Regions from separate parts of the Homo sapiens genome. Here region 1 is linked to region 2. The links are contacts of gene promoters, found by promoter capture Hi-C in human tissues and cell types (Jung and others, 2019). All regions are on one chromosome and are shown on one strand. The core of a region is centred on a gene start or on the middle of the fragment in contact, and the rest is flanking DNA. Distances in the headings are between cores, read along the strand shown. Region 1 holds the start of RINL (Ras and Rab interactor like). Region 2 overlaps SAMD4B (sterile alpha motif domain containing 4B).

The links. The method cuts DNA at HindIII sites, captures the fragments that hold promoters and counts their contacts. A contact is called where the count stands out against the background at its distance.
Region 1: the fragment with the promoter of RINL here is called in contact with a fragment that was not itself captured in region 2 in 1 of the 25 tissues and cell types used here (dorsolateral prefrontal cortex).

What each region holds. Positions count from the first base shown.
Region 1 is chr19:38,874,580-38,880,487 of GRCh38, reverse strand. It overlaps RINL (Ras and Rab interactor like), which reads left to right and starts at 2,213. Exons shown (of 12, transcript NM_001195833.2): 1 at 2,213-2,256; 2 at 3,707-3,795; 3 at 3,998-4,157. The coding sequence starts at 3,746. SIRT2 (sirtuin 2) reads left to right here. Exons shown (of 16, transcript NM_012237.4): 14 at 786-856; 15 at 988-1,054; 16 at 1,178-1,928. The coding sequence ends at 1,333. RefSeq lists enhancers at 1,577-1,676, 1,717-1,836 and a silencer at 2,377-2,426. The HindIII fragment of the contact is 14,230 bases long and covers 1-5,420 here.
Region 2 is chr19:39,344,171-39,350,334 of GRCh38, reverse strand. All of the region lies in intron 1 of SAMD4B (sterile alpha motif domain containing 4B), which reads right to left. Among named protein-coding and RNA genes, the nearest start is that of SAMD4B, 4.8 kb to the right of the region's middle. The HindIII fragment of the contact is 5,468 bases long and covers 1,606-6,164 here.

The sequences.
Region 1 (5,908 bases), core at 964-3,463, 470 kb after region 2:
ACTCAAACCAGCTGAAGCCAGATAGGAAGGCCGGGCTTCCAGGGACTGAGGAGGTGGGAGGGGGTGCAGGGGTCAGGAGAGACAGTGCGGGGGGCGGGGTTGGGTCCACGCTCTGGGTCTCTCAGGTCTGTTTTTCCTGGGCAGCCTCACTCTAGGGCAGGTGCTCCCTCCTAGGTGTTCCCCTCAGGGGAAGTAGGCAGGGTCACCGGGCAAGCAGCGCACGCTGTGGGCAGACACTGTCCCAAGTCTTAGCCTGCGTGAACTCACTGGCGCCACAACCCCATCGCGGTTTTGTGATCACCCCTATTCTACAGGAAACTAAGACACAGAGAGGACAAGTCACTTGACCAAAGTCACTGAGCTGGCTGGGCGCAATGGCTCACGCCTGTAATTCCAGCACTTTGGGAGGCCGAGGCGGGTGGATCACCTGAGGTCAGGAGTTCGAGACCAGCCTGACCAACATGGTGAAACCCCGTCTCTACTAATAATACAAAATTAGCCGGGCATGGTGCTGGGCACCTGTCATCCAGGCTACTCGGGAGGTTGAGGCGGGAGAATCACTTGAACCCAGGAGGTGGAGGTTGCAGTGAGCCGAGATCACATCATTGCACTCCAGCCTGGGCAACAAGAGTGAAACTTTGTCTCAAAAAAAACCAAAAAAACAACAACAAAAAAAAAACAAAGTCACAGAGCTAGGATACAAACCCAGGCCACCTGGCTCCAGGGTCTGTGCTCTTAGCTCTCCCTTCCCTGCTCCTGCCCCTGACCCACCCCCTCCCTGACAGTCGGACCCTTTCCTGGGGATGATTATGGGCCTCGGAGGAGGCATGGACTTTGACTCCAAGAAGGCCTACAGGTGAGGCCCCGCCGGGGGTTGGGGCAGCCTGGAAGGGACAGGGTGAGGTGGGAGCGGGGGCACGAAGGCAGATGAGAGGAGCAGGCAGGGGCGAGCCCGCCTGGGAACTCTGATCTCCTGCTGCACCGCAGGGACGTGGCCTGGCTGGGTGAATGCGACCAGGGCTGCCTGGCCCTTGCTGAGCTCCTTGGATGGAAGGTGAGGAGCTGAGCAACCCCAGCCTGTCCTGAGCCCCATCCCTGGACCCTCTCCCCACCCCATGGGTCCTCTGACCCCATGATGCACAGTGACCTTTGACTTCTGTGACCTTTGCTCCTGCAGAAGGAGCTGGAGGACCTTGTCCGGAGGGAGCACGCCAGCATAGATGCCCAGTCGGGGGCGGGGGTCCCCAACCCCAGCACTTCAGCTTCCCCCAAGAAGTCCCCGCCACCTGCCAAGGACGAGGCCAGGACAACAGAGAGGGAGAAACCCCAGTGACAGCTGCATCTCCCAGGCGGGATGCCGAGCTCCTCAGGGACAGCTGAGCCCCAACCGGGCCTGGCCCCCTCTTAACCAGCAGTTCTTGTCTGGGGAGCTCAGAACATCCCCCAATCTCTTACAGCTCCCTCCCCAAAACTGGGGTCCCAGCAACCCTGGCCCCCAACCCCAGCAAATCTCTAACACCTCCTAGAGGCCAAGGCTTAAACAGGCATCTCTACCAGCCCCACTGTCTCTAACCACTCCTGGGCTAAGGAGTAACCTCCCTCATCTCTAACTGCCCCCACGGGGCCAGGGCTACCCCAGAACTTTTAACTCTTCCAGGACAGGGAGCTTCGGGCCCCCACTCTGTCTCCTGCCCCCGGGGGCCTGTGGCTAAGTAAACCATACCTAACCTACCCCAGTGTGGGTGTGGGCCTCTGAATATAACCCACACCCAGCGTAGGGGGAGTCTGAGCCGGGAGGGCTCCCGAGTCTCTGCCTTCAGCTCCCAAAGTGGGTGGTGGGCCCCCTTCACGTGGGACCCACTTCCCATGCTGGATGGGCAGAAGACATTGCTTATTGGAGACAAATTAAAAACAAAAACAACTAACAATCCGGTCTGGCCTCCTGTTTCTTTCTGTGGGCACCCAGGGAAATCTCTGAAGGGAGGGGGTTAGATCTTGGGCCACTAAGGAACCAGAAAGTCTCCGGGATCCAGAGTGAGGGGTAACAAGAGGGTCCTCACGGGGGCCCTCGTGGCTCTGACCCCTGGACTCCCAGCCTGCCAGTGTCCCTTCCTCTAAGCCCCGTCACTAAAGGCCTGAGGCCCCAGAAAGAGGGAGGAAAGTTGACTTCAGATACCCCAGCCCCGCCTCTTCCCCCTGCCTGCTCAGCTTCCTCTCTCCACTTCCTGCTACTGCAGGCCTCTCCTCCGAGAACAGGTAGGGCCCCCAGGAACCGAGCATCTGGCATCTTCAGCCCCTGCTGCCTCCCTTTGGTATGAGGCAGCTGCCCTGACCCACCCCTGCCACGCACTGCCCACAGCCTCCTCTCCTGCCACGGTACACAAGCAGGCATCTGCTTCCCTCTCCCCTCCCCTCCCCTCCCTTCCTTCCTGCTCTTGCCTGGGCAGGGCACCTGCGCCTCCCTGCCCACCTCCCTCCTTCCTAATAACACCCTGGCCTTCTGGTCAATGGCCTAATGTATTTGTTTAGCTGCCTATTATCCATATGCTACACCTGCCCCAAACAAGAATGGAAGGCCCTGAGGGGAGGAGCCTGTCCTGTTCATCACCCTCTCTCCAGGGCAGAGGCACCTAATTCCAGCCTGTATTCAGTAAATACTGGATGGATGGAAGGAAGGAAGGAAGGGAGGGAGGGAGGGAGGGAGGATGGATCCTCCCCCGATCCAGGTCTCCTGCTCCTGGGACTGCTGCTGGGATAAGTGCCACCCTAAGTGATAACCTACGTAGGACTCTGTACCTGGTTAGGAGCTGGGGCCTGATGGGTGGATGAAGAGAGAGAGGAACAGATGTGTGATAAAGCAAGATGAGTAAAATGTTCATGGTAGAATCTTGGTAGTGGGCATAGGGATGTTTCCTGTACAATTCTTTCAGCTTTTCTCTATGTCTGAAATTTTTCATAATAAAATGCTGGGGGAAGAGATTCAGTGGCCCCTCCATGGTGTGGGAAGGGAGGAAGAGGGGATGTTATTACCTTTCCAGATATAGGGACTGCCTACTCTGGGCCAAGAACTTTTCCAGGCGCTGACTGGGTTTTGCCAAGGGCTGGCCCACATTTACACAGCCCCCATGGCTGTTAAAAATCTTAACATATTTCCTACCACTTCAGTAAAGAGCTATTGTTTTGAGTCCTCTCCCCACACCGCAAGACACACTGGCCTCTCTCCTGGGATCCCCAGATTCCCCACCATCCGGTACTAAAGATTTAACCCCTGCCGGCCGGGTGTGGTGGCTCATGCCTGTAATCTCAGCACTTTGGGAGGCCGAGGCGGGGGGATCACTTGAGGTCAGGAGTTTGAGACCAGCCTGGGTAACACGTCAAAACCTTGTCTCTACTAAAAAATACAAAAATTACCCAGGCGTGGTGGTGCACGCCTGTAATCCCAACTACTCGGGAGACTGAGGCACAAGAATCGCTTGAACCTACGAGGCGGAGGTTGCAGTGAGCTGAGATCGTGCCACTGCACTGCAGTCTGGGCAATACAGTGAGACTCCGTCTCAAAAATAAAATAAAGAATTAACCCCTGCCACGGCAAGCGGCCTCTGGGGTCCATTCTGATTGGTCAGGGTCTCTGCCATATTGATTGTAAATATCTTGAACATGACCCGAGGGCTAGAGCAGCTTTGAGTCTTACCTTTCTCCCTGCCAGAGGCCAGGTCATGACTCACTGGCTTCCTGCAACCTGACGATGGCCCAGCCAGAAGACAAGGCACCTGAAGTCCCCACAGAGGGGGTGAGGTGAGGCTACTAGGGCTGAGGCTATGCCCTCCTTCCCCTGCATCCAGAAACCCTTTCCATCCAATACCTCCCTCACTACAGAATCCTGAATCACATCTCTGAGCCTCTGCCCTGGGCCTGCCCCTTCCTGTACCTTTGACCTCACCTCATTGTCCCACTGCCCACCTCTGACCCCTGACTCCCTGGACACTGTCCATCCCAGGCTGGTCCCACCACAGGTGAACAAAGCAGACAGGACCCCTCTAGGGGTCCTCAGCACCCTAGAGCCACTTACTCGCCTGCAGAGGACATGGGGGGTGTGGCATGTGCCAGAGCTGGATACCCAGGATGCGGAGGCCCTTGTGGGGCTGTGGCCACTAGGGGTGAGTACTCACAGCTGGGGGCCCATCCTGACACCCTAGATTAGGACTCTGCTGGTTACTAGTGACAAACATGACACAAATTGGGCAAACCAAAAAGGCTATTTATTGCTGGGTGCAATGGCTCATGCCTGCAGTCCTAGCTACTCATGAGGCTGAGGTGGGAGGATCATTTGAGCTCAGGAGGTCAAGGCGGCAGTGAGCTGAGATCATGCCACTTCACTTGAGCCTGGGTGATGGAGCAAGACCCTGTCTAAAAAAAAAAAAAAAAAAATGTAATTTCAAGAAGCTCTGGATCCTGAACTTCAGAACACTTATAAATTCCTCTTCATCCCATTTCTTGGCTTTGCTTTCAACTGCGGGGAATTTTGGATATTTGGGACTGAATATAACAAACACCTGTCCTACAGCGGTTTAAACAAATAGGCATTTATCTTCCTAACATAACCAAAAAGGCAGCTGCTGGCTTTAGATCAGCAGTGCAGTGACATTGAGGCCAGCATAGCTATAATTCTCTTGGACTTCTCTCACAGCTTCCCGGGGGCTGCCCCAGGCCCAAGCACCTGCGTGCATTCCAGGCAGGAAGAACAGAGGCACCACTTGCATCTGTTTATTTTACAGGAAAAATAAAGGTTTTCTTTTCTTTTTTTTTTTAATTTTGAGAGTTTCACTCTTGTTGCCCAGGCTGGAGTGCAATGGCATGATCTCGGCACACTGCAACTTCCGCCTCCCAGGTTCAAGCGATTCTCCTGCCTCAGCCTCCTGAGTAGCTGGGATTACAGGCATCTGCCACAACGCCCGGCTAATTTTTTGTATTTTTAGTAGAGATGGGATTTCACCATGTTGGCCAAGCTGGTCTCAAACTCCTGACGTCAGGTGATCCACCCACCTCTGCCTCCCAAAGTGCTGGGATTACAGGTGTGAACCACCGTCCCCGGCCAAAATAAAGGTTTTCACAACTGATTCAGAAAATATAGATGGCTGGCCGGGTGTGCTGACTCACGCCTGTAATCCCAGCATTTTGGGAGGCTGAGGTAGGAGGCTCGCTTAAGCCTAGGAGTTCAAGACCAGCCTGGGCAACAGAGCAAGGCCCAGTCTCTATTAAAAAAAAAAAAAAAAGAAAAAAGAAAAAAAAAAGGATGGGGCCCAGGTAGCAATATTTTTAATTTTTTTATTTATTATTTTTATTATTATTTTTTGAGATGGAGTCTCCCTCTGTCACCCAAGCTGGAGTGCAGTGGCACGATATTGGCTCACTGCAACCTCTGCCTCCCGGGTTCAAGCGATTCTCCTGCCTCAGCCTCCCGAGTAGCTGGGATTACAGGCGCCCGCCATTACACCCGGCTAATTTTTGTATTTTTAGTAGAGACTGGGATTCACCACGTTGGCCAGGGTGGTCTCGAACTCCTGCCCTCAGGTGATCCACCCGCCTCGGCCTCCCAAAGTGCTGGGATTACAGGCGTGAGCCACCGTGCCCGGCTGTAGCAATATTTTTAACAGCTCTCTTGGGACGTATACAGCCAGAGCTAAGAACCACCACCTATATCAATCATGATCCATATATCAATCATACTCATGGCTGGGTATATTAATGCCGTGAACAAGGAATTCTGCAAGGAATGTGGAATAGGTTTGGAGACGACAGCAAACGGGGGCTACCACAGCTTCCTCCTCAGGAGGGTATCATCCTTCCCAGCTCAGAGCTGTATCCCACCAGTTTAGCAACACCAGTGTAACAAATGAAGTCTTTCCAA
Region 2 (6,164 bases), core at 3,090-5,589:
GCTTAAATCCTGGCTCTCCTGTTATACTTACTTGCTGTATTGACTATGACAAGTAACTCTGTTTCTTCCTCAATGAAGCTTGTTAGAAGAATTAAATGAAACAATGTATTTAAAAATACCGCGCATGATGCTTTTTTCCTCCTCTATACTTCATTTCAATAGCAAGCATGATGCTTAGCATGTCTTCATACATCATACATTGTCAGGCCCTTTGCCAACAGCTTTCCACAGATAAGCACATTTGATCCCCAAAACTCTATTTCAAAAATATATAACATACATATATGAATATATTATCATTTTACAGATGGAGCAACTGAGGCACAGAGAAGTTAAGTCACTTTGCCCAAGACTGTACACCAAGCTGAGATTTTCAAGGCCAGGCAGTCTGGCTTCAGAGCTCTTGCTTGCTCTTAACAATGCAAGAAAGCTGGGCATGGTGGCTCACATCTGTAATCCCAGCACTTCGGGAGACTGAGGTGGGCAGATCGCTTGAGCCCAGGAGTTTGAGACCAGCCTGGGCAACAAGGTGAAAGTTGGGCCTAAGGGCCCTTTAATACCAACATCTCTGGATGAATAAGGGGATCCTATCTGCCTTCTTACCCATTCCTAGTTCTTTTTACAGCACGACCTAGGCCTTTGAGAACTTACACTTCATGAACAAGGTAACAGGCTAGTTACCTAGGGTTAACTCACTTTCATAACCTGAGAAGAGACTGTCAGAAGCCAAGGGAGCACAACTTCTCTTATAAGAATCAACCATTATTTCCAGAAACTCCTGAAATACGTACACAAAACATGTACACCACTGCATTAGCAAAGAATGAGCTTTTTGTATGAATGGTGCTGGGGAAGGGAGGGAGAGGAGAGGAGAAGCCAGGCAGGGCCTCCTGGAAGATAAGTACAGTATGGGGAGCTCCGGTAAACTCTGGAATAGAGAGGAAGCTAGCATTCTTCCTCCCACTCCTAAATGTCTTGACACCCCTTCCCCCCGAAAAGTTTATTCTCTGCTTCCTTTCCCTTCTTTACACTTGTTTTCTCTCACTTAGGCATGTAATTAACTCCTGTAGATTCAATCATCACCTCTCTGTGGACAACTGAGACATTTTTTTGAGTCATCTTTGACTTCTTCCATTTCCCAAAGACCCAGTCATTAGGTCTTGATATTTCTTTTTTCTTAATGTCAGCTACACATGCCTTGCTTATCTTTCCCCAAACCTAAGTGGCTCTAGAACCAGACTGCCGGGTTGGAAATATAAGCCTGCCACTTACTACCTGTGTAATTTTGGGCAAGTGATTTCACCTTGCCATGCCTGTTTTGTCATCTGTAATGTGGGTGTAATAATAGTACCTACTGAGAAGGAAGACAGAAAATAATAATAGTGCCTACTCTCATAGAGTTGTGAGGCATAAATGACTTGGCTATTATCATTATTCTAGATTCCTCTCTTTCTCTAATCCCATCATCAAGTCCTGTTTTCTGTACACCCAAAATATATCTGCTTCTCTACATCTTCACTACCACCACCACCACCACATTCATGTCACCATTTCTCATCTGGACAAATGGATTGTCTCCTAACTTTCCTTCCTGATTCTGTCCTGACCCTCTGTTTTCCTCCCAGAAACCAAAGTGAGCTTTCTAAAAAAATTAATCAGATCATGTCGCTGTCTTGCTTTTAAAAACTCCCTTCTAATAGTTTCCCAATCCCCTTAAATGAAAATAGAAACTCCTTACTGTGGCCCTTAGGCTGCAAGTAATCTGGCTTCTGTCAGCCTTTCCAACCCTCACCCCTCTCCCTCACTTAGGCTTTAGCCACACTGGTCCTTGCGATTCCCTGAACATATGGCAGGGCTTTTGCACCTGCTGACCTCTCTGCCTGAAATGCTCTTCCCCGGACCGTCACAAGGTTGGTTCCTTCTCATCAATCAGATCTGGGCTCACCTGTGCCCCATTCTGCCTCATCTGCCCAGTAGGAAGGAGTCTATGATATCATCATCAAGAGATGTTTCTTCAAAGGCTGCAGCTCTTCCAAAAACACCTAGACTGTAAGATCCATGAGAGAAGGGAAGACTGTAGCTATATTATTCATTGCTACATCTCCAATTCCTAGCATAGCACCTGGTACATAGCAGGCCCTCAATAAATATCTGTGATAAATTTCCCCACCTTGCAGAGGTCCTTTTTCTGCATGTAACAATGCTTAGATTAGAATGTTCCACTCCCAGATCTTCCCACAACTGGTGCCTTCTCATCTTTCTGGTTATCAGGCTCAACTGTCACCTCCCAAAAGAGGCCTCTTCTGATCCCCCTGTCTACTACAGTGGCCACTCCCACCCTCTCTTTCACACTGTTTTATTTCCTTCACAGCATGAATCACACTCTGATTTTTTTGTTTCCTCCCCCCATCAGAATATAAATTCCATGAATTTCAGGACCTTGAATGTTTTATTCACTGCTCTGTCTCCAGTACCTAGAATAGTGCCTCCATGCATTAATGAATGAGTGCAGGCTGGAGATATTTGAGACTTGCATACTCCATACACTGCTGTTCTGTAACTTGCCCTGAACCCGCTTCTATTCAACAAGTTTACACTAAAACAAACAAAACAAAACTCCACTCACAGCAATCCTACTTAACTCTCTTCCAAAGTTCTGTGTCTTGGAAACCTTAAACTGTGGTGAGGGTATTGCCATTACTCCTGGATTCTGCTCCCCTGAGGCCACCATCAAGCCAGGCTGATCACCTCATATCACCCGTGATATCCCAAAGCAAAGTGTGGTTGAGTCAGACCAGCCACAAGCTCTCTCTAGACCCAAACAATCACAGAGCAGAGAATGACTGCGGCTGGGGGACAGTGGGGAGGGAGATTGCCATCACTGCTCAGAAAGTTCATCGGATGGAATCACAGGCCTATTTGGCTCAGCAAGCCAGAGACTGAGTTGCAGGGTACAGAACCCAAAATATGTTTCTAAGGATCTTCTGGCATAATCTCACATCTATTCAAGGAAGAAACTATTTTCAAACTGGGACTCTCAAGAAAGAGTTCTCTTTCCACTAAGGCTTTCCAAGGAGGTAGGGTTAAAACCTGGGGCTGCTGAGGACCATATTTGTCATCCAAAGCAGAAGCTTGTTGAGGATGAAGCTAACTCAGTGGAGAAATGGGAGGAGATGACTGAGAAAATTATTTGAACACCTGGATGCAGCTAGGTCTGAAGCCAACCTAGCTCTGGACTTTCCAGTAACAAAAGCCAATTAATCCCCCACTTTTTTCATTAAACCACTTTGAGCTAAGGTTCTATCACTTTATGTTTTTAGAGTTCTGGCTGATATGAGCTTTTTTTTTATTTTATTGTTTTTCTAACATTGCAATTATGGGCAAGACATTGTTCTAAGTACTTTACATGTATTAACTTATTTAATCCTCGTAACAATTCTATGAAGTAAAGTATCATTATTTCCTTCATATTTTTAGCTGTGGAAACTAAAAGACCAGGGAAGTAACTCGTCCTAGGGTACAAAACTGGTGAGTGGTAATGTGGGATACAAATCCTGTCCAGACCCAGGGTCTGCATACCTAACAACTACTGCCCCATTGCAGCCAAACCTATCTTAACTAAAAATCAAACTTTTTGACCCAAGGCACTACCATCTTGGAATGGACAGTGCCCACAGACCCTCTATTAGTCCTACCTGTTCTTAATCTCATCATATGCAAAATGAGGATAATGGTAGTTTACTTACCTCATAGGGTAGGTAAACTCCTACCTCCTATGAATACATGTAAAGCACTTAAACAGTGCCTGGCAGTTAGAAAGCATTCAAAAACCAGTGGTCATTATTATTATTACTCTGTAGGTCACTAAAGTGCAGCTGGCAAATACAATGCAAATGGAGGAAATCTGTCTTCTTTCATCTCTATCTTTTGGGTGAAGAGAAGAGATACCATGGGTGAGAGATGAGGAGGCTTTGTCTTTGACCCATTGCTTAAGCTGTTTCCTCTGCCTGGGGGCACCATCATTGTCCCAACTCCCATGGAACACTATCCAGCCCAAATACCACCTTTTCTGTGAAGTCTTTCCAAATAAAAGGCTCCCTCTCACTGCTGAATTTCTACAGCATATAATTTGTACCTCATTTTCTGCTCTGTACATGCCCAAGCCCCCTACTGGTATTGTGAGCTCCCTGAAGGCAGGCCCCAATATTTACCCTGGGGTCTCTGTTTCCCCTTCTGGGCCCTAGAAACAGAATCCCTTGAAAAAATGCCAAGAGCTCTGTGGAGGCTCCAGACTTAGCAGCTGAGAGGGGCTGCTAAGAGAAGCCAACCAGGACGGGTGAGGCAGGTCACCAGGCAAAGGACTTGGGGTAGCTCAGAATCAGGAAACAGCACAAAGAAAGTCCCTAAGACAGGAGCAAGTAGGGCAGGAGTAAAGGCAAAGGGTGCTGTGTGGAGAAAAAAAAGGGAGGTGAGAGGAGAGGAGGGGGCAGGGAAGGTGTACTAAACCTGAATGAGGAGTGAGATCTGAGGAACTTGGAGATTTCTGGCCAAATGCAGAAGGAAGAGCTGCTTATTCTCCAGTGATTTCCAATAACTTACAAAGAGTAGATCCCACCTTGTGGGATTCAGAGAAGAACAAGACACATCCCGTACTTTCAGAGTTCCTAGTCCAGTGAGGGTGAGTGGACAAGTACATTAAAATCTACAAGGTTGAAGGTGAGTGGTGTTCTAAGAGGTACAATGGAGGTGGAGGGGTCTTGGCAGTAAGACACAGAATGAAAAGACCTCCTGAGGGTGCCTCAAGGGGAGGGTGCCTATGTGAAGAAACAGATGGACAAGAAGAGATGGATATGTGTGTTCAAAGAAGCAGCAATTTAAAGAAGCACCAAAGGCTGGTAGTGGGCTGGAGGGGTAGCCAGAAAGAGAAAGCACTGAGGAAGATCTGAAAAGAAACCATTCAAAAGTAGAATCGGAAATAACTGCTCAGAGGATGGAGTAACCTTGTGGAGAAGCCAAGATCCTTTCAAGGTAGGTAAGAAATCTTTCTGGAGGATGGGTACTTCATAAAGGGGATTCCTAGGAAACAGGAAAGCAGCAGTGGGCAGTAGGGCACAGAGGCATACCCTGAGGCATCTTTCAGGGGGCTTTTAGTGAGGAAAAGGAAATCCTCCTAAAGGGCACAGGTTCTCAAACTTGCGTGTGCATCAAAATGACCAGGAGGGTTTGTTAAAAACTCTTGATTGCTGGGCCCTGCTCCCAGGTTTTCAGTTTCAGTAGATCTGAGTGGGATTCAAGAATGTGTATTTCTAACAAATGTGGCTGCTGCTGGGCCAGGAACCACACTGAGAACCACTGCTATAGGGGAAGGGATTATTTGGTGAGGAGGTCCTCAAAGGGGAGAAGGAAGAAGGCTTCTGAAAGGGAAATGGGGAGAATCCTAAGTCTCTAAGGAGGGTGTTAAGGGTCTCTTGATCTCTGAAGGGAAGAGGGGTCTATGAGCATGGCACCTAAGAAAAATGGTCTGAAAGAAAGATCTCGGAGCACTGGGATTTCAAGGGGGCGGGGAAAGGTGTCTCTCAAGAATCTTTACAAGGAAACATAGAGGCTCTTGGGCAACGAGTCTGGAGAATGTTGGGGACCTCTGAAGGGATAATGGGAAAAGGGGGCCCCCTGAGAAAGGTCTCTGAGTTGACTTCAGAGGAAAGAGAATGGGGAAATGAGAGGGTGTAAATAGCAATTCTAAAGTTAGTGGGTAAATCTGATAGGGTCCTAAATAATGTTTCTTGGGGATGTCAGAAGTGGAATCTGAGGGAAAGTTCTGAGGAAGTCTCAGGAAGCGCTGGGAGTGGGTGGCTGATGGAGGGCAATTTGGGAGAAAATTCTCTAAAAAGTGTCTGAGGAAGGTGTGGTCTTCTGAGACTGGTCCTGGAGTGGGATGACAGAGGGATGTTTTTAGGAAAAACTCTTCAGAGATCTCAGTTGAGGAGAAAGCTGAGTAAAGTCTCCAAAAGAGTATATGGGGAAGGCGGGGTCTTCTGAGAGAGTGTCAGAGGAGAGGGTTTTTCAGAAAGAATTATAGGACTTTCTCAGAGCAAGAGCTCGGGTTATTTTGGGGGAAAATTAGGTGTGTGTGAGGGTCTTCTTCAAGGGATTCTAGAGGATTT